4 separate regions of the Homo sapiens genome follow, and regions 1, 2 and 4 are each linked to region 3. The links are contacts of gene promoters, found by promoter capture Hi-C in human tissues and cell types (Jung and others, 2019). All regions are on one chromosome and are shown on one strand. Each heading gives the region's core, a stretch centred on a gene start or on the middle of the fragment in contact. The rest is flanking DNA. Distances are from core to core; before and after follow the strand shown.

Region 1 (5,474 bases), core at 1,538-4,037, 460 kb after region 3:
CAGGTGATCCACCTGCCTCAGCCTCCCACAGTGCTGGGATTATAGGCGTGAGCCACCACACCCAGCCCAGAAGGTTGATTATTAAGCTATTCAAGGAGATACCAGAGAAAGGTGAAAACCAAGTTAAAGCAATTTTTTAAGACAATACAGCATATGGATGAAAAATGCTCCAGAAAAATAGAAATTATAAATTAAAAGCACAACTTATGGAAATGAAAGACACACTTAGAGATATACAAAATGCATGGGAAATAGAACTGAACAAGTATTAATAAAAGAAAGAGCTTGAAGACAAGGCTTTCGAATTAATCCAATCACACAAAGGCAAACAGGGCAGCAAAATCTTCACCTAGAATTGAAGGTACCAGCATCAACTGGGATTGGAGGCGGCTCTGTAGCATACAGACAGCTACTCTGTGGCTCATGAAGTTAGCAGAACTTCATGAAATGCTGGAGAGATGTTAAAGAAAAGAAAAAGGGAAGGATGGGACTGTAGAAAAGACCCCAGTATAACCGCAACCTTGGCTGCACCTTAAACTCACCTAAGGAGCTTTTAAAACTCTGGCACCCAGGCTATACTCCAGACCAATCTGAACTTTTTAAAGCTCCACAGGCGATTTCAATTTGTAACCAAGGCTGAGAATCAATACTCAATATAATCGATTTACAGTGGGAGGAAATTTAACAAGAGAGTGGATAACTGTTAAGTCTCTGTGAATCCCATTTAGTTTTATACCTTACTACCTCATCCAGTGGCAATATTGCAGATGAGAGAGTATTAAAATGCAAAAGAAAATACTTAAAATTCCAAAATTCCCTCCTCTTTCCTTCTCCAATCCCTGAGCCTTCTGTTTTCTGTACCACAAAGCTTGTTCGACATCCTTGATGAACAGAACTTGGGTTTTCTGAGCTTTCTTCTGGCTTAGATTGGCCTCACAATGAATTGGGTTATCTTCTTGCTGTCAGTTTTCCAGGAAACAACAACAAGGATTTGATTGATTGCTTGTTTGTTGTCATAGGGAATGACCTAGCCATGTTGAGTGGGAAGTAACTGGCTATTTGGTTGGTGGGGAAATATGTCCAAGGTGGAGGGATGGTGAAGAACGGACCGCATGTTCCTACAAAGAACAGACGTGACCGTCCAGCTGGCTTGGCCGACTCTGAGAGCCCTGCCCTCCACTAGATATGGTGGATGGTGGGTGAAAGGCATTGGTTAGGACTCTAAGGTATTGGGGTCTGTGGTCAGGTAGAGTGAGATGGAATCAGGGGTTAGTTCAAGAGTAACATAACGTGTCAAGTGGCTTTCCCTCTGGAGTGACTCAGAAAAACCTGTCCCATAATCTTACTGTTACTGCCATTTCCTTCACCCTGATCAATGCCAGAAATAATAGCCTGAGTTGGATTGATTTGAGCTCTGGCGCCTGTTCTTCACTTCTTGTTCATCTTTTGTCCATGGGCATTTCTGTTTTTCTTCCTGACCAGTGTCAGGACTTAGATAGTAATGGTCCTTAGATTACTGTAACAGTGAGGATGGGCCTATGGGGTCTCCTGTGTCATGTGTGTATAATAGCAGAAATGGCCTCAGCTTAGCACATATGTTCATATAAAGAAATTAGGCTAAATAACTTCTCTTCCTCTCTCATTTACCTATGTCTGAAAGGAAAAAATAATTAGACAATCTATGAATCAAAAATCTGTATATACCTAAATTATAAATTAAAGGCAATTTAACTGTTTACCTGCATCTGCACATGCAAATGTTGAACCTGACTTGATTTTTTAAAATGAGCTTCAAAATATTTAAACTTCAGACTTTCTTATGAACATTTTAAAACAGTTTCTCTGATCCTTTGCCATTTATGAAGACAGAGGCATCTGCTTAAAGCAATATAGTCTTATTACTATCTGAATCACAAAGAAAATACTATTTGCTATTGTTCCTTTTTAGTCTTCTTCAAAGGACGAGAAAGAGCTCTCCTCCACTTTGCCTTTCTTCACTTACTCTCTTGGCTGCTTTCTGCTCCTCTGTATCCATCTACATCACTCACATGCTGTCTTCCCAACTCGTAGCACTCAACCTCTTCTGTATACTACCGGCTTCCGGGATTTATGGTGGGGGATATCCCTACTGCTTTCCCTGGGCTTATGGCAAAAGAAAATGAAGTCCAGTTTGAAGTCTCCTGCAATATCATTCTGCTTTCTGGGTGAGAAGCCTGGTATGGGGAGCCCTCTAGTGGATATGTGGCTGCCATTACATTTTCCCTTTAAGGCAGAAGAAAGAGTTGGTTTGTTGGCAGGGGCAAGGGAGTAGTTCTGGTCCTAGCTCGACCATGGACTTGCTGTGGGACTTTAGACAAAGCACTTCCTCTCTCTTGGCCTCAGTTCCTTCCATGAAATATTGTAGTGTATACTGTTTGCTTTGTGCCCACAAAAACTCATTGCTGCAAGTGGGCAGGACTTGTGGAATGGCTGAGTGCAGATCTCAGCAAATCCTCTTTTCCCAAAACAATTATGAAGCCAGACAAAATTGCCAAAGACAGTCATTTAAAGACTGGAAATTTGACCAAAGCCATACAACAGATTGAGAAGGGTTAATTTAAGAAAGTCCATCCGTGGTCGGGCGTGGGCTCACGCCTGTAATCCCAGCACTTTGGGAGGCCAAGGCGGGCAGGTCAGGAGATTGAGACCATCCTGGCTAACACGGTAAAACCCCGTCTCTACTAAAAATACAAAAAATCAGCAGGGCGTGGTGGCGCGAGCCTGTAGTCCCAGCTACTCGGGTGGCTGAGGCAGGAGAATCCCTTGAAACCAGGGAGGCGGAGGTTGCAGTGAGCTGAGATCGCGCCACTGCACTCCAGCCTGGGTAACAGAGCAAGACTCCGTCTAAAAAAAAAAAAAAGAAAGTCTATTGGTTCTCAGAAAGAACAGTGGAAGTCTGTAGTGTTTTAGCATTGCCCCTTCACCTCCAGCTCTGCGGTTGTGGTAAGGAAGTTCTATCCAGGTGGGTGGGGCTTGTGGGAGGGAATGGCGTGGCAGCAGAGGGTGACTGACTTTACTTCCATGCCCAGGGTTGTTGAAAACAAGAGTTATCTCAGTGACAATCATGGAAGACCAAAATTGCAGCTAGCTTGAGGTTGCAGTACTGGTTAGGACAAGCAATAGGCCAACAGGCCTGCCAAAAATTTAACATGGAAATCCAGGTAATGATACAACTAAAGAGGGTCTTGAAAAGCTGCCACATGTGTCTGGTGGTCTAGAAGGTATGCACAAGGCTGCATACACATTCACATTCAGGACAGACTGGAGACTCATAAAAATCTGGAACTTTGAATGAATTCTCCAAGCCACACAGAGATCCACTGACAAAAGGTAAAGCCTTCGCGGCACAAGGTGTGGCTCAACTTCTGGCCATTAAGCTATGCCGATCTAGGAAGCCAGGCTTAAAAACAAGAAGCCGGGCACTGTGGCTCACGCCTGTAATCCCAGCACTTTGGGAGGCTGATGTGGGCGGATCATGAGGTCAGGAGTTCGAGACCAGCCTCGCCAACATGGTGAAACCCTGTCTCTACTAAAATACAAAAATTAGCTGTGCATGGTGGCAGGCACCTGTAATCTCAGCTACTCAGGAGGCTGAGGCAGGAGAATCGTTTGAACCTGGAAGGCGGAGGTTGCAGTGGGCCGAGATCACACCATTGCACTCCAGCCTGGGCGACACGGCGAGACTCTGTCTCAAAAAAATAAATAAAAATAAAAACAAGAAAAAAACTCTAAGCAGATATCTCAGTGGTTACATGCTGTGAGACAAACAGACATCACAGAATCAGTCCAGGTGGGTCACTAAACAAACAACAAACAAACAAGCAAACAGCAACAACCGTCCGCCCTGGTTGGGTGGGGAAGGAGATCAGAGCCCACAGTTGCTACGGTATGTTACCTAGAACGTCCAGTTTTTCAACAACAAATTATGAGACCTGCAAAGAAACAGGAAAGAGGGACCCATACACACAAAAACAGTAGAGACTGTTTCCTAGTGGGCCTACATGTTGCATGTAGCAAATACTTCTAAACTGCTATTTTGAGTATATTTAAAGAAGTAAATAAAATCAAGTTTAAAGAATTAAAGGAAAGTGGAATGACAATGACCGATCAAATATACAATATTAATAAGGAGGTAGAAATGATAAAGAAGCACCAAATGAAAATACTGGGGTTGAAAAACACAATGGCCAAAATAAAACATTCACTAGAGTGATTTAACAGCAAATTTGAGTTACCAAAAAGAAAAAAGAATCAGCAAACTCAAAGATGGATCAACAGCAACTACCTAGTATGAAGAGTAGGAGGAAAAAGAAAAAGAAAAATGAACAGAGCCTCAGAGGCCAAGGAGACACCATTGAGCAAACCAACAAATGTATAATTGGGGTCCCAGAAAGAGAGATGATAAAAAGGCAGAAAAAAATACCTATATAAAAGATAACTGAATACTTTCCAAATTTGATGTAAAACATTAATCTATACACCCAAGAAGCTCTGTGAATACCCAGACATATCATTCAAACAGATGAAAGCCAAACACAAAGAGAGAATCTTGAAAACAGCAAGAGAAAAAAAGACTTATTGTATACAAGAGATGCACAATAAAAAACAATAGTCAACTTTTCATCAGAAACAATGGAGACCAGAAGGCAGTGGGATGACATATTAAAAATGCTGAAAGAAAAAAACCTGTTAACCAATAATTTTGTATCCAGTAATGTATCTTGCAAAAATGAAGGTGAAATAAAGATAGTCCCAGATGAATGGAGAATGAGAGAATTTGTGGCTAGCACACTTGCCTTAAAATAAATAGCAAAGAAAATTCTTTGGGTGGAAAGAAAGTCACACCAGATAGCATTCTAAGCCACATGAAATACAAAGCACCAGTAAAGGTAATTATACAGAAGAATCTAAATATATATTTTATCATTTATGCTGACCAATTTGAAAGGTAATTGAATAAAACTAGTTATAAATCCTATTCTTGGTCTTATAACATGCAAATATATAATAAATATAATAGTAATAGCACAAAGGAGAGGGACTGAAATGAAGCTGTATTAGATCAATGACACCAGACAGTAAGTATCTTAATCAACAGGAAGAAATGGAGAGTACCAGAAATGGTAAAATGTAGTTAATATAAATGACCATAAGTATACTTTTTCCTTTTTCTCTTAACTAATTTAAAAGACAAAAATTTGTATAAAGCAATATTTGTAACACTGTCTTCGGTTTATAACATATTTGGATGTAATATATCTGACAATAATAACATAAAGGAGGGAAGAAGGAATGGAGCTAATTTTAAGTTTCCATATTTTACAGGAATCAAGTTAGTATTAATCTGAAGTAGATAGCAATAAGTCAAGATGCACATTGTAATCCCTAGAGCAACCACAAAGAAAACTATTAAAAATGTTATTAAAAAGTTAACA
Region 2 (4,987 bases), core at 1,773-4,272, 290 kb after region 3:
TGGCTCACTCACTGCAATCTCCGCCTCCCAAGTTCAAGTGATTCTGCTGCCTTAGCCTCCTGAGTAGCTGGGACTGCAGGTGCGTGCCACCACACCCGGCTAATTTTTTTTGTACTTTTAGTAGAGACAGGGTTTCACTATGTTGGTCAGAGTGACCTCAAATTCCTAACCTGAAATGATCTGCCTGCCTCAGCCTCCTAAAGTGCCAGGATTACAGATGTGAGCCGCCGTGCCTGGCCTTTTTGTTTTTTTGCTTTTTTTTTTTAGAGACAGAGTCTCACTCTGCTGCCTAGGCTGGAGTGCAGTGGTGCGATCTCGGCTCACTGCAACCTCCACCTCCCGGACTCAAGCAATTCTCCTGCCTCAGCCTCCTGAGAAGCTGGGATTACAGGCATGTGCCACCATGCCCAGCTAATTTTTGTATTTTTAGTAGAGACAGGGTTTCGCCATGTTGGCCAGGCTGGTCTCGAACTCCTGACCTCAAGTGATCTCCCTGCCTTGGCCTCCCAAAGTGCTGGGATTAGAGCGGCCAGCCCTGCTAAGAGGCTTTTCTCAAATGTCTAGCTGGTGGTCCTTGACTACCTATTTAAGAGAGAGCCACTAACAATCCAACTGGGAGCTTTGATAAGAGGATAGGCCTTGTGTACTGGTTTGGATCACAATGAGGTAGGTGGTTTGGCAAGGTTATCTAGCTATTTTGTTGCCAACTCCTAAATGTCTATTTTTTTTGCAGATATTTATTCTTGGGTTGTTAGTTTCCCTGGAAAAAATTTCTTTAAATTCCTGCCTTGGTGGGTAGAAGCTTGCTGTGGCAACCAGTAGGGTGAGAGGGCTAAGGAGTCCCACTGCTCACTATGTGGACTTTGATTTAAGTACCTGTTTGAAGGTAGGAGACTTACTCCTAACCTCAGCTGAGTTTGGTATCTAAGTCTAGATTTTTTTTTGGATTTATCTTCTCCAGATAGTACACTTCCCATCTTCTATGGAGGCAGGAAAAATACGGCAGTTAGAGAGGGGTGCCTGGAAGTGTAGGTACTTTCTCCTAAGACTCACATATTTCCTAGTTGTCAGCTGGACTCCTACACCTCCTCCTGTAAGGTAACTGTATGCTTATAATTTCTGAGCATTTCAGGGATTTCTACTGAGATAATTTGCTTCTTCCTTGTTGGCCCCTGTCTCTTCCAGATTTCTTAGCAGAACAGAGAAAGCCAAAACTTGAGACAGTTCTCATTTGTCTATTTTCCATCCAGAATGTTTTTGACAGGGCTTTTCTGCTGGCTGCTTTGTCCTGTTTATTTATTTACTTTTAAAGTTTGTTTTGTTATGCTTTTAGTGAGGCTTCCTGAAGATTTAGAGGTAAATATACATGTAAACCTTAACCTTAAAGAATTCAGTCATTTGAATGACATAAATATTATGGGCCTAATACTTTTCTTGCTGCTGGAAATCCAGTAGTGCACAAAACAGACAAATATTCCTGCCCTCATGGAGTTTAAATGCTAGTATAAAGACAGATGCAAATCAAATCAAGAAGAGGTATAGTATATTAGATAATGATAAATGTTAAGAAAAAAACTTTTAAGACTGGGTGTGGTGGCTCACGCCTGTAATCCCAGCACTTTGGAAGGCCGAGGCAGGTGGATCACCTGAGGTCAGGAGTTCAAGACCAGCCTGACCAACATGGAGAAACCCCGTCTCTACTAAAAATACAAAATTAGCCAGGTGTGGTGGCACATGCCTGTAATCCCAGCTACCTGGGAGGCTGAGGCAGGAGAATCGCTTGAACCCGGGAGGCGGAGGTTGCGATGAGCCACGCGCCATTACGCTCCAGCCTGGGCAACAAGAGCACAACTCTGTCTCAAAAAAAAAAATTTTTTTTTAAAGACACGAAGTAGGAAATATTATTGGCAAACTTGTAATCTTTTTCGGTAGATGGCCATGGAAGTCTTCACTGAGAAGGAGCTATTTGAAAGACCTTAAGAAGTGAGGGAGCAGATCATGAGGAAATTTGGGAGAAGAACTTATAGTTAGTGGGAGGAGCCAGTACGAAGGTCCTAAGGCAGCGGTGTGCCCCGTGTATTTGAAGAACAGGAAGGAGGGCCAGTGTGGCTGCATCACACTGTAAGGACTGGCTTTAATACTGAATGAGGTTGTGGGGTTTTGAGCAAAGCCATTATATGATCTAACTAACCATATTATAAAAGAGTCAATGTGGCTGCTGTGTTGAGAATAGCCCATAGGGAGGCATGGGCTGAGGCAGTTAGGAGGCTATTGCAGTATTCCAAGCCACATGGAAATAGTGAGTGGCTGGATTCTGGATTTGTTGATGAATTGGGATGTGGGATGTGAGCAGGGAATAACCAAGATGATTTTAAGGTTCATGACTCCTGTGGGCTTTTGAAACTGTAGAAGTCTGGTATCAGTATAAATATAATGAATACTTTGCTAAAAAGGCCATAGAACTATTTTAAGTAATTTTGCTTTACAAACCATAATGCTTCTTTTTTAAAGCTCTTCACAGAATACGGTCGTCTGGCAATGGATGAAATTTTCCAAAAGCCTTTCCAGGTTAGAATATTTATTTTAAATATAATTCATACCTTTGTTTTTGTTTTCACAGATTGGCAAACTACAGCTCATAGGCCAAATCTAGCTTGCCACCTGTTTTTATATGACTTGTGAGCTAAGAATGGTTTTTACATTTTTAAATGGTTGAAAAAAATGAGCAGTACTATTTTATGACACGTAAATTACCTGAAATTCAAGTGTCATTGTCTGTAGGTAAAATTTTAGTGTAACACAGCCATGCTCATTTGTCTTTGTACTGTCTGTGACGGCTTTCCTGCTACAACGGCAGAGTAATCGCTTAAAAAGTAAGCTCTGTGGGTTGGGCGTGGTAGCTTACACCTGTAATCCCAGCACTTTGGGGAGACCCAGGTGGAAGAATTGCTAGAGCCCAGGAGTTTGAGACCAGCCTGGGCAACATAGCAAGACATCTCTTAAAAAAATGGGGGTAGGTACAGTGGCTCATGCCTGTAATCCCAGCACTTTGGGAGGCCAAAGCAGGCAGATCACCTGAGGTCAAGAGTTCGAGACCAGCTTGGCCAACATGGAACCTGTCTCTACTAAAAATACAAAAATCAGCTGGGCGTGGTGGTGGGTGCCTGTAATCTTAGCTACTCAGGAGGCTAAGGCAGGAGAGTCGCTCGAGCCTGGTAGGTGAAGGTTACAGTGAGCCGAGGTCATGCCACTATACTCCAGCCTGGGCGACAGAGCAAGACTTTGTCTCAAAAAAAAAGAAAAAAACAAAAATAAAATAAAATAAAAAGGTCGTGCACGCCTGTAGTCCCAGCTACTCGGTGGGGTTGAGGTAGGAGGATCACTTAAGCCTAGGAGGTCAAGGCTGCAGTGAGCCATGATTGTGCCACTGCACTCCAGCCTGGGTAACAAAGCAAGACCGTCTCAACACAAACACACACATACACACTCACTCACTCTCTGTCTCTCTCTGTCTCTCTCTCTCTCTCTCTCTCTGCAAAAAGTCTTTGCTGACCTATGCCTCAGTTCAGTGTTTCTTGAGAATGAGGAAGCACAGCAGCCTCAGTCAATGGGATTAGAGGTGCTTTCAGTGTGTAAGCCTTATTTCTTTTCTTTTCTAATTTATTTTTTTTTTTTGAGATGGAGTTTCTTTCTAAAATTTTGCCCAGGCTGGAGTGCAGTAGCATGATCTTGGCTCACTGCAACCTCTGCCTCCCAGGTTCAAGCAATTCTCCTTCCTCACCCTCCTGAGTAGCTGGGATTTCAGGCGCCCGGCTAATTTTTTGTATTTTTTGTAGAGATGGGGTTTCATCATGTTGACCGGCTGGTCTCAAACTCCTGAGCTCAGGTGACCCACCTGCTTCGGCCTCCCAGAGTAAAGGGATTATAGGCATGAGCCACGGTGGCTGGCCTTCCTTTCTAATGCTGAAAACAGACCTGATTTTTTTCTTTTTTGGAGACAGAGTCTCGCTCTGTCACCCAGGCTGGAGTGCAGTGGCGTGATCTCGCCTCACTGCAACCTCCTCCTCCTGGGTTCAAGTGATTCTCCTGCCTCAGCCTCCCAAGTAGCTGGGATACAGGCGTGAGCCACTGTGCCCGGCCACAGATCTGATTTTATGATTAGCTGGTGCCATGTGGTTTTCTCTTTTGTCCTTTACTGTATTCCCCATAGATTTCTTTAAGGCAGAGTCCCAAATTTACCATTTTCTCATTAATGTCTTCCTTCTGTTCCTACTAACCTGTGGGAACAAAAATAGCAGATAGGATATATTGACCTCATATTTGGCTTAAACATGTCCCTCCAGTGTTTGTAAAACTTCTAAGACATTACAGAATAGATAAATCTGGCCGGGTGTGGTGGCTCACACCTGTAATCCCAGCACTTTGGGAGGCCAAGGCCACAGGATTGCTTGAGGCCTAGAGTTCAAGACCAGCCTGGGCAACAGAGCAAGACCTTGTCTATATAAAAAAATTAAAAAATAAGCCAGGAGTAGTGGCATGTGCTTGTAGTCCCGGCTACTTGGGAGGCTGAGGTGAAAGGATCACTTGAGCCCAGGAATTCTAGGCTACAGTGAGCTATGATCATGCCACTGCACTCTAGCCTTAGTGACGGAGCAAGGCCCAATCTCTTTAAAAAAAAAAAAAAAAAAAAAAGGTAAATCCTTCTACTTTACCCCCTTTGTAGAAGCTGGCATTATGCAAAGATGTATTGCAGTTGTTCTCTTGAAAATGTGTTTATGCATGTTAAAATATGTTCCGCTCTTTTCTTAAATAGACACTGATGTTTTTGGTTAGAGATTGGAGTTTCCCTTATGAATATAGCTATGGACTCCAAGGAGGAATGGCATTTTTGGATAAGCGTTTACAGGTAAGTGGGACTATAATCTTCTGATGAATTATCTCAAAGTAGTGATAGCTTTCTCATTTGCTTTTGGCTATTGTGTTTAAA
Region 3 (5,401 bases), core at 2,752-5,251:
CGCCCAGAACCCAGAAAGCACTGAAGCCTGGGTTCCCTCCATCTCACTTCTAAGCATGAGCAGTAATTCCCAAGAACAAGCAGCAGGAGGGCCAGCCGGGCCTCTAGTAGATTTGTGGGCTCATTCATGTAGACCTGGCAATCCTCAGAGCAAGGCCTGGAGCTGCCATGGCCTGAGACCGCAATAACTCAAGAACCCCTTACGAGCTCCGCTGCCTGCCCATGGGGCAGAAGGCAGGGTGCAGCCAGCTGGGCCAGACAGGCAGGGAGGGGCCGCACTAGGAAAAGTGGTCTCCTACTGTTCCAATTAGCTTTGCCCCTGCCTTGTGGAAGTAAGGCTGTCCTACAGGGACACAGGAAAATGCTCCTAATTAAAATGGATAATAAGCACAGTGAACAGTAAAGCTCACTGTGGTTAAGTGTCTTTTCCAAGGGAGCTTTGTACAAAAAAAGAGAGTGCGGGATTTTGAATCAAAAGACCTGGATTTGATTCTCAGCTCTTTCACTTACTAGCTGCGTGACTTCAGGCAAGTTACTTAAGCTCTTTTCAGCAAGTTGCTCAAAATTTCTCTCTCAGTTTTCTTCTCCATAAAATGGGGCTCGCAATGTCTACACCAACAGTCGCAGGAGGGGACTTCTGTTTACAAAGACCTCCCTCAGATCTTCTGCCGGTGCTTTAATAAAGGTGATCTATTTTACTTTTCACAACCCAGCATGGTAGGTGTGACTACTTCTTTGATGAGAAACCTGAGGCACAGAGAGTTAAGGAACTTGCAGGGTCACAGAGGCGGTGAGGAGAGTTCTCAAAGCGGTCTCTTCCTCCCACTCCCTCCAACTCTCCCCATGAGGTGAGGGTAGATCCGCTTTATCTGGCTATGTTCACCCAGTGCTCACCAAACAGCAGATACTCAGTTCACATCTGCTGAATGAATCATCCAAGATCCAAATCCACGTTTGAACCCTAAAGTCATGCTCCTTCCACCATGTCACAATCACATGTATATGGCATTTTTTGTTATAAAGTGTTACATAAATGTTTCCATGTGCAGTGTAAAACTCTTCCCCTTACTATTCCCATTGAAAAAGTAACTCCACACACAGTTCTACGACTGGAAGGGGTCATAAAGACAAATTAAAAAAAACACACCCAGGCTGGGCGCGGTGGCTCATGCCTATAACCCCAGCACTTTGGGAGGCGGAGGTGGGTGGATTACCTGAGGTCAGGAGTTCAAGACCAGCCTAGCCAACATGGTGAAACCCCGTCTCTACTAAAAACAGAAAAAAGTAGCCAGGCATGATGGTTAATACCTGTAATTCCAGCTACTCGGGAGGCTGAGGCAGGAGAATCACTTGAGCCTGGGAGGCAGAGATTGCAGTGAGCTGAGATTGTGCCACTGCACTCCAGCCTGGGCAAAAAGAGCACAACTCTGTCTAAAAAAAAAAGGAAAAGAAAAGAAAAGAAACATCCAGATGGGAGGAGGAGCCACTTTTCAGAAAAAGAATTTGGCATCTCTTAGATTTTCAGTATCAATGTCTCTACCCCATATACTATCCAATATCCAAAAAGAATCTGTTTTTGGTGAAGCAAGAGAAATATAAATTCTAACTCCTGAAAGATGACACAAATGTGGCAACTAGGACACGTGTGTGGCAACTGAAGAGAAAGCGCTCCATCTGAAGCCTCACTCAGCCTGAGGCCAGGCTCTGCCACAGGGTAACTACAAGGAATGATGACTTCCCCAGCACCCACAGTTGTGGAATGAGGGTGATGAGACGGTTCCAGCTGTTTCAGGGAGGAGAATTCAAGTCTCTCTTACTGTCAATTTTAGGCCAGAAGAGACTTTGTAGGGTCTCATGTGAGAAACACATCTGTAAAGTATAAGATTGAGGCCCTAAAGGAAGCAAGGATCGCAGAATCTCTGGGGCATATTTCTTTTTTCCTTCACCCTGTCTTATGGTGTTGAGGGCCTGCTATTTCAGTCCAACCAACGAGGAAGTGTTGAACTAGAACGGCATGTTACACTTCTTGTTTTCTGCTTAATCCGCAGTGGCTGCTTCTGGTTAGACAGTTACTAAGGGACACAGGTTTCATTTAGTTTCAACAATGGCTGTGTCTAGGACCTTTCACCAAAATTTAGGTTAAATATGCCTAAGGTCTCTAGACTTGGTTTTCTACATATGAAGTACGTAATACCCAAAACTATTTGTTAAAACACGATGACTGTTTTGACACGGATTAGACAACTATTTTTGTCTAATAAGTTGATTTGTTCAGTCGATAAATAGTGGAGTGACGGGAAAAAAAAAAACTAGGTTAACAACAGTAGGGACAAACCCAATGGGTTAAAAATAGCACAAATCCATTTTAGATCAGTAAAGTTAAGGCTGAGGATACAGACAAAAATAACAGCCACTACTTAGGAGACACCTCCTTAGCAATCTACATCCATTATCTCACTTAATCTTCACTACTACCCTAAGGGGGAGGTATTAGCATCCCAATTACAGAGGTGAGGAAATTCAAACACATAAAGGCCAACTCACTGGCACACTATTATACCACCAGCAGCGAAGACGGGGCTGGAAGTGAGGTACCTCGGGCTCCAAAGTCAGGGTTCCCTTAAGGTGATGGAAATTCCATGTAAATACTAATATAGGCCTGTGTGGTGGCTCACGCCTGTAATCCCAGCACTTTGGGAGGCCTAGGCGGGTGAATCACGAGGTCAGGAGTTCGAGACCAGCCTGGCCAACGTGGTGAAACCCTGTCTCTACTAAAAATACAAAAATGAGCCGGGCATAGTAGCGGGCGCCTGTAATCCCAGCTGCTGGGGAGGCTGAGGCAGGAGAACCGCTTGAACCCAGAAGAAGGAGGATGCAGTGAGCCGAGATCGCGCCATTGCACTCCAGCTTCGGCGACAAGAGCAAAACTCCATATCAAAAAAAAAAAAAAAAAAAAAAAAAAAGAATACAGCCAATACTAGGAAAAGCGTTATCTTTTTAGGAGGGTGACTGATACTGCTGTAATTGAGACTTAGTAAGGTGAACGCACAGAAACTTGCAAATAACTTCTGCCCTACCCTATATCCCGGGAAAGTAAACTAAAATGCACCTCCAGGCTGCCGGCACGGAACAAGTGGTCAATATCCATCCGCGGCTGGGCCGCCGCCCCCGCCTCCCCGCATCTTCCCCGCACACCTGCACAGCCCTCCCCTTGCAAAAAACACCTGCACTACCAAAACCCCTAACAACCCAAGCGGTCGTAAGAACCATTTCATTGCAACCAGGAGGCGTCGAAGGCAGGAGTCTATGGGAAAGGAAGGCTGTGTTTATCAGGAGCAGCAGGAACCTGGTGGAGAGGTTTCGAAAGAGTGTAGGGGAACCGGCTTCGCTGAGACTCGAGTAACGGGAAGGGCAGTGGACTGGGATTCGGGAGGCCCAAGGTGGGGTCTGACGCCCCCGACAATATGACCTTGGCTAGGCGCCTTCTTTCCTCTGGGCCTCAATTCCCTCCAAGCCAGGGTTGACCTCGGATGTGAAAAGCGACGAAGCTGGTGACAGCCAGGTGATGAGTGACCCTGGGGGAGCGGGAAGCTAACCCCAGGGTCCCCGCGGGGGACGGTGGTGGGGAGGCCAGTAACGGGTCCGCGAAGCAGGAAGGGGCGGGCGTGACGCTGGGGGCGCCGAGGGGGTGGGGCCCCGGACCAGGGGCTCTCCAGAGGATTCCCGGGCTAGGCCTAGCGTAGGGACCCTTAGAATGGGGGAGTCGGGTCATGTGGGGGTCAGGGGTCACGTGAGGCTGGAGGGGGTCGGGGTCACGTGAGAGGGGGGTTTAAGAACAAAGGGGGCGAGGGTAGCGAGGAGCGCCCCTGGACCTCCCATCTCCTCTCTCTGCCTCACTCACCCCCATAGCGGCGGCGACAACGCTCAGCTTCTTCTTCACACACTTGCCGGCAGGGAGGCGGCAACGGCGGTGGCTGCAACAGCGGCGGCAGCAGAGCGGACGGCCCTGCAACGCGCATGCGCCTCGCAGCTTCCCCCCCCCCCCCCGCCCAACCGCGCGCCCTCGTACCGCGCCGGCGCAGAACCGGCGCAGGGCAGCGGTGAGCCGGCGCGCAGGTGGAGCGCCCGCTAGGCTGGCCGAGGGTCTCCGACCAGGAGGAGGCGGGAGCGCGGAGGAGCGTCGCGCCGGGAATGACGTGCGGCCAGAGCCCGCCCCCTCGCAGGGCTGCGTCTGTAACTATGGCAACGGCGGCGCCAGGCCTGGCTGCTCACCCAGGCCGTGAGTCGCGCGCCGCTGGGGGCCGGGTGGTTGGCAGCACCTCCCCTGCGGCCAGCGACTCCTTGGCCCCGCGCGTAGCAGCCGGCGGCACAGCCACCTTCCCAGGCGGCCAATCGCGTCTCGACCTCTAAAGTACCTGCCCCTCCAGAGCCCTAGCGCGCGTAGCGGAAGTCTTTGGAAACTTTCCCACCTTCCAGATCTTGACTCTTGAAATTCCTTTTCTAACCAGAGTCCTGTTACTCATTCATTCGTCTTCTAACCATTCATTCCCCCTCATTCATTCACGTTCTCAATAAAAATTAACTCGCATCTACGCGGTGCTGAGCCCAGGGGGCACAGAGAGGAGCGAGGTGCCATCTCAGCGCCACACCTCAGGGTTTAGAGGGGAGACGGGCACGTAAGCACTGTTTAGGAGAGAGTGGACAGTGCTGTTAGCGTGAACACCAGGCATCCCGGAAAGTTTTAATTTCAACCCATCCCCAGCACACCGGAGTGACCCGCACGTGACCCGAATCCAAACCGCCGGGGGCGCTTCCGCAGTGTGCACACCTCTGCCAACCTCCCCCAGAATCTCCAGGGGTGGAGCCAGAGTCTTCACTTCCTAGTGCTCCCCAGGTAGGGAGCGAAAATTAGTGAAATGCTTCAAGACGAAAATTAGTGAAATGCTGCCCAACACTTAAGCTTCATGGACTTTTTCAGGTTTTGCTCATTATTCCATCTTTTTGTTTTTTTAAGAGACAGGGTCTCGCGGTCGCCCAGGCTGGAGTGCAGTGGTGCAATCACAGCTCACTGCAGCCTCGACCTCCTGGGCTCAAGCGATCCTCCCGCCTCAGCCTCCTGAGTAGCTGGGACTACAGGTGTGCACTACCATACGCAGCTCAATTTTTATTTATTTTTTGTTGAGATGGGGTCTCACTGTGTTACACAGACTGGTCCCAAACTCCTGGGCCCAAGCGATCCTCCCACTTTGGCCTCCCAAAGTGCTAGGATTACAGGCGTCAGCCACTGTGCTTAGCCTCATTATTCCAACTTTAGTGCTCAGTACAGTGGTGGCCTCAACAACATTTATCCAGTGCCTACTGTATGCTAGGCACTGTTCCAAGCAGCAAGGAAAACAACAATA
Region 4 (5,156 bases), core at 2,323-4,822, 340 kb before region 3:
CACCCGCCTCAGCCTCCCAACAGTGTTGGGATTACAGGCGTGAGCCACCATGCCCAGCATTTTTCACATTTTCATGAGATGAGGGCAGGGGCGGGGTCTCCTTTTGTTGCCCAGGCAGGCCTCAAACTCCTGGGCTCAAACGATCCTCCTGCCTCAGCCTCCAGAACAGCTGGGACCACAGGTGCATGCCACCACACCAGCTCATTTTTTATTTTTTGTAGAGGTGGGGTCTTGCTTTGTTGCCCAGTCTTGTCTCGAATTCCTGGGCCCAAGCAATCCTCTCACCTTGGCCTCCCAGACTGTTGAGATTACTGGCGTGAGCCACCATGCTCAGCCTCCACAGCTTTCTTTAACTTCCTGAGCTTGCACTTGGCCATTTTTCTGCTCACAAACTTCCCCTGCTCTCTGCCCCCCACACACACTCAGCATTCACTCGCGCCACACAGTGAGTGCTCACCGTGTGACACAGGCTGTTCCAGTTGCTAGGGGGCCTCGGTGAACCCAAGCGTCAGGAATCCTTGCCCTTGTGGAGCTTACCTTCTAGTGAGCTGGTGGGGCCATGAGCAAACAAGCACAAAAGCATCCTATCATGCGTGAGAAGATTTGTATGGGGGCAGCATGTAAAAGAGTTAAGAGAGGCCGGGCGCGGTGGCTCACGCCTGTAATTCCAACACTTTGGGAGGCCTAGGTGGGCGTATCACAAGGTGAAGAGATGGAGACCATCCTGGCCAACATGGTGAAACCCCATCTCTACCAAAAATACAAAAATTAGCTGGGCATGGTGGCGCGCACCTATAGTCCCAGCTACTCGGGAGGCTGAGGCAGGAGAATCGCTTGAACCCGGGAGGCGGAGGTTGCAGTGAGCCAAGATCGTGCCACTGCACTCCAGCCTGGCGACAGAGTGAGACTCATCTCAAAAAAAAGAGTTAAGAGAATCCGGAGTCACAGGGGCGGGGGGAGTGATGGTAGCAGAGGTGGTCAGCACTCACCTTGGTGAGAAGCACCACTGGAGCCAAGGCCACAGGGATGATGGGAAGAGAGTTCCAGGCAGAGAGAAGGGCAGATGGTAAGGCCTCGAGGGCAACACCTGCTCCTGGCTAGGGTGGGCCTAGGGGAGGGGGTTTAGGAAAGGGTATTTGGAGACCTAAAGTTGAAGGTCATTCTAAGGACTCTGGCATTGCCTTTGAGTAAAAACCTGGAAAGGATTTGAGCAGAGGCAGCATGGTCAGATTTAGACATTCAGAGAGTCACCAGGGAGGTGGTGAGAAGTAGCTGATCCCTGGATTTATTTTTAAAGCAGAACTGGCAGGATCTGCTGATGGACTGGATGTGGGGTGCGAGGGAAAGAGAGGAGTCAGGATGATGCCAAGGAATTTTAAAAAAACTATTAGGCTGGGCGCGGTGGCTCACGCCTATAATCCCAGCACTTTGGTAGTTCGAGGTGGGCAGATCATGAGGTCAGGAGATAGAGACCATTCTGGCTAACACGGTGAACCCCGTCTCCACTAAAAATACAAAAAATTCTCTGGGCGTGGTGGTGGGCGCCTGTAGTCCCAGCTACTCTGGAGGCTGAGGCAGGAGAATGGCGTGAGCCCGGGAGGCGGAGCTTGCAGTGAGCAGAGATTGCACCACTGCACTCCAGCCTGGGTGACAGAGCAAGATTCCGTCTCAAAAAAAAAATTATTATTGGCCGGGCGTGGTGGCTCACACCTGTAATCCCAGCACATCGGGAGGCTGAGGCAGGCAGATCACTTGAGGTCAGGAGTTCAAGAACAGCCTGGCCAACTTGGTGAAATCCTGTCTCTACTACAAATACACAAATTAGCTGGATGTGGTGGTGGGCGCCTGTAATCCCAGCTACCTGAGAGGCTGAGGCAGGAGAATCACTTGAACCCAGGAGGTGGAGGTCGCAGTGAGCTGAAATCCTGCCACTGCACTCCAGCCTGGGTGACAGAGCAAGAGTCCGTCTCAAAAAACAAAAAATAAATAAAAATAAAATAAATTAGGCCAGGCGCGGTGGCTCACGCCTGTAATCCCAGCACTTTGGGAGGCCGAGGCGGGCGGATCACGAGGTCAGGAGATCAAGACCATCCTGGCTAACACGGTGAAACCCCGTCTCTACTAAAAATACAAAAAATTAGCCGGGCGTGGTGGTGGGTGCCTATAGTCCCAGCTACTCGGGAGGCTGAGGCAGGAGAATGGCATGAACCCGGGAGGCAGAGCTTGCAGTGAGCCGAGATGGTGCCACTGCACTCCAGCCTGGGCGACAGAGCAAGACTCCGTCTCAAAAAAAAAAATTATTATTATTATTATTATTATTATTTTATTTTATTTTTGACATGGAGTCTTGCTCTGTCGCCCAGGCTGGAGTGCAGTGGCACCATCTCAGCTCACTGCAAGCTCTGCCTCCCGGGTTCACGCCATTCTCCTGCCTCAGCCTCCAGAGTAGCTCGGACTACAGCCTCCCGCCACCATGCCCAGCTAATTTTTTTGTGTGTTTTTAGTAGAGATGGGGTTTCACCATGTTAGCCAGGATGGTCTCGATCTCCTGACCTTGTGATCCGCCCGCCTTGGCCTCCCAAAGTGCTGGGATTACAGGCGTGAGCCACCGCGCCTGGCCAAATTATTATTAATTTTAGAGACAAGGTCTTGCTATGTTGGCCAGGCTGGTCTTGAGCTCCTGGCCCCAAGTGATCCTCCCACCTTGGCCTCACAAAGTGCTGGGATTACAGGCATGAGCCACAGTGCCCAGCCAACACCAAGGAATCTGGCTTGAGCACCCGGTAGGATGAAGTTGCTTTTAATGGAGAAGAAACACTGAAGGGTGAGGGAGGATCTGGAGGCTACCCTAGAGGGTGGGATAGAGGGGGATTTTTTTTTTTTTTTTTTTTTTGAGATAGAGTCTTACTCTGTCACCCAGGCTGGAGTGCAGTGGCACGATCTCGGCTCACTGCAACTTCCACCTCCTGGGTTCATGCCATTCTCCTGCCTGAGCCTCCCCAGTAGCTGGGATTACAGGCATGCACCATGCCCAGCTAATTTTTGTGTTTTTAGTGGAGACGGGGGTTTCACCATGTTGGCCAGGCTGGTCTCGAATTCCTGACCTCGTGATCCACCCGCCTCAGCCTCCCAAAATGCTGGGATTACAGGCATGAGCCACCGCGTCTGGCCGCTAGAGGTGGCTTTTAAGCATCTGGTGGGATTTTTAGCAGGGTGCTAGTGGGAGCTGGCAGGGACTTGGAGTCTGAACCAGAGTTGTGCTTGTCTCAGTCCAGTTAGGGGTAGGGGCTTCAGGTGTGTGCAAAGGAAGGAATGGTAGATGTGGGGTCCAAGCTGGCTGAGCTTCAGGGAAGGGAGCAAGCCCTGGGAAGCCGCAGCATCGTTGGAGTTGGGGTCCCGGGGGCATGATCCACACAGGTTGGGTCAGCTGGTGGGAAGCTTGGGATGGAGTTATTTGATGGTGACAAGGCCTAGGTTATGTCCCTGGGAATGAGTCTGAGGGGAGAGTGGGACAAGATCATGGTAGAAGGAGTAGCAAGGTACAGAAAGGAGACAGGGTGCTGGTGGAGTGGCAGAGGACAGGAGTAACATTCTGCACAGGCCAGGGACGACACCTCCCCCCAGCCCCAGCTGCAGACCCGTAGGAAAGAGGGCTGCGGGAGAAGACAGCTGCCAGGTGAGGACAGAGCTGGATTTCTTAACCTTTTGATTTAGTTTTCAGTGTCTCCAAAAGCAAGTGGTTTCCCAGAAAAGATCAGCAAGTGCCAGTGCCCCGCCAGAGCCACGGGGCCTCTGCCCTCTCTACCTGCGCAGAGCAACTCACACTTGGTTCGGTCACTCCTCATAGTCCCTGCCACCAGGCCCCCCTGCTGGATGGCTGAGGTGTCCCCAGGGCAGGGACTGCAGCCACCTTGTGCTGTGACAGCCCACACAGCCCAGTGTCTGAAACAGGTGTGGACAGTGGAGAGGCAGAAAGAAGCAGCCCAGTGCTAGCCCCTGGGCCAGACTGCAGGGTTCAAACGTGGCTCTACCCTTCCTAGCAGGTTGAGCTTGAGCAGGTTAATTAACTCCATCTGCCTGAGTTTCCTCATCTGTAAACGGGAATAGAACTAGTCCCACCTCGCAGGGCTGTGGCGAGGACCTGATGAGTTAATATAGGAAAAGTGCTTGGAAACAGTGCCTGGCGCAGAGGAGGGGCTAAGTGTTTGCGGCTCTTATTATTAGAACTGCCATTGTTATTATTTATGTATATATATATTTATATATAAATATATATATATAATTTTTTTTTCCAAGATGGAGCCTCACTCTGTCGCCCAGGCTGGAGTGCAGTGGTGCAATCTCGCCTCGCAGCAACCTCTACCTCCCAGGTTCAAGTGATTTTCTTGCCTTTATGTACATTCTTGGCTTTATATATTTATAAAGCCTCAAATTTCTGGGCTCCAGCCATCCTCCCACCTCAGCTTCCTAAGTAGCTGGGACTACAGGCGCACGCCACCATGCCTGGCTAATTTTTTTATTTTAATTTTTGTAGAGACAAGGGTCTTTCTGTGTTGCTCAGGCTGGTCTCGAACTCCTGGCCTCAAGCAGTCCTTTTGCCTTGGCCTCCCAAAGTGTTGGGATTACAGGCATGAGCCACCACATTGGGCCTATATTTTTAAGTTATGGACAAAAATCCAAAGAACTATATTTTGTAACGTGAACATTCTATGAAATTCAAATTTCAAGGTCCCTAAAGAAAGTGTTAGTGGAACACAGCAAGGTGCAGTGTATTCATTTACACATTGATTATGGTTTCCTTTCAGCTCTGGCCACAAAGGTGAGTGGTTGTCACAGAGACCACGTGGCCCACTGAACCCCCTTTATAGAAAACATTTTCAGCTAACTTAGGAAAAGGGAAAAGAAAGTGAACAAACATTTGCCAGCCAGCCTTTCATACCTGTAATCCCAGCACTCTGGGAGGCCAAGGCAGGAGGATCACTTGAGCTCAGGAGTTCGAGACCAGCCTGGGCAAGATGGCAAGACACTTCTCTAAAAATTTTTTAAATTAAAAAATTAGCCGGGCATGGTGATGCCTGTAGTCCAAGCTACTCAGGAGGCTGAGGTGGGAAGATCGATTGCGCCTAGGATTTTGAGGCTGCAGTAAGCTGAGATCG

The links. Contacts are between HindIII fragments. The study calls those that stand out against the background at their distance.
Region 1: a fragment that was not itself captured here is called in contact with the fragment with the promoter of NAA40 in region 3 in 1 of the 25 tissues and cell types used here (hippocampus).
Region 2: a fragment that was not itself captured here is called in contact with the fragment with the promoter of NAA40 in region 3 in 1 of the 25 tissues and cell types used here (hippocampus).
Region 4: a contact is called between a fragment that was not itself captured here and the fragment with the promoter of NAA40 in region 3, in 1 of the 25 tissues and cell types used here (spleen).

The regions. Positions count from the first base shown.
Region 1 is chr11:63,475,751-63,481,224 of GRCh38, reverse strand. The region is part of intron 3 of PLAAT5 (phospholipase A and acyltransferase 5); the gene reads left to right. Among named protein-coding and RNA genes, the nearest start is that of PLAAT5, 13 kb to the left of the region's middle. The HindIII fragment of the contact is 5,998 bases long and covers 1-5,474 here.
Region 2 is chr11:63,644,088-63,649,074 of GRCh38, reverse strand. ATL3 (atlastin GTPase 3) reads left to right here. Exons shown (of 13, transcript NM_015459.5): 6 at 2,512-2,568; 7 at 4,814-4,906. All of the region lies in intron 2 of LNCROPM (lncRNA regulator of PLAAT3 mediated phospholipid metabolism), which reads right to left. Among named protein-coding and RNA genes, the nearest start is that of ATL3, 25 kb to the left of the region's middle. The HindIII fragment of the contact is 5,374 bases long and covers 336-4,987 here.
Region 3 is chr11:63,937,602-63,943,002 of GRCh38, reverse strand. It overlaps NAA40 (N-alpha-acetyltransferase 40, NatD catalytic subunit), which reads right to left and starts at 4,001. Exons shown (of 8, transcript NM_024771.4): 1 at 3,901-4,001. The coding sequence starts at 3,906. RefSeq lists silencers at 3,895-4,080, 4,010-4,089, 4,350-4,399 and enhancers at 4,120-4,259, 4,498-4,998. The HindIII fragment of the contact is 10,658 bases long and covers 1-5,401 here.
Region 4 is chr11:64,277,500-64,282,655 of GRCh38, reverse strand. The region is part of intron 2 of BAD (BCL2 associated agonist of cell death); the gene reads left to right. It also overlaps a transcript of GPR137 not described here. Among named protein-coding and RNA genes, the nearest start is that of BAD, 4.6 kb to the left of the region's middle. RefSeq lists an enhancer at 3,546-4,047. The HindIII fragment of the contact is 6,252 bases long and covers 447-5,156 here.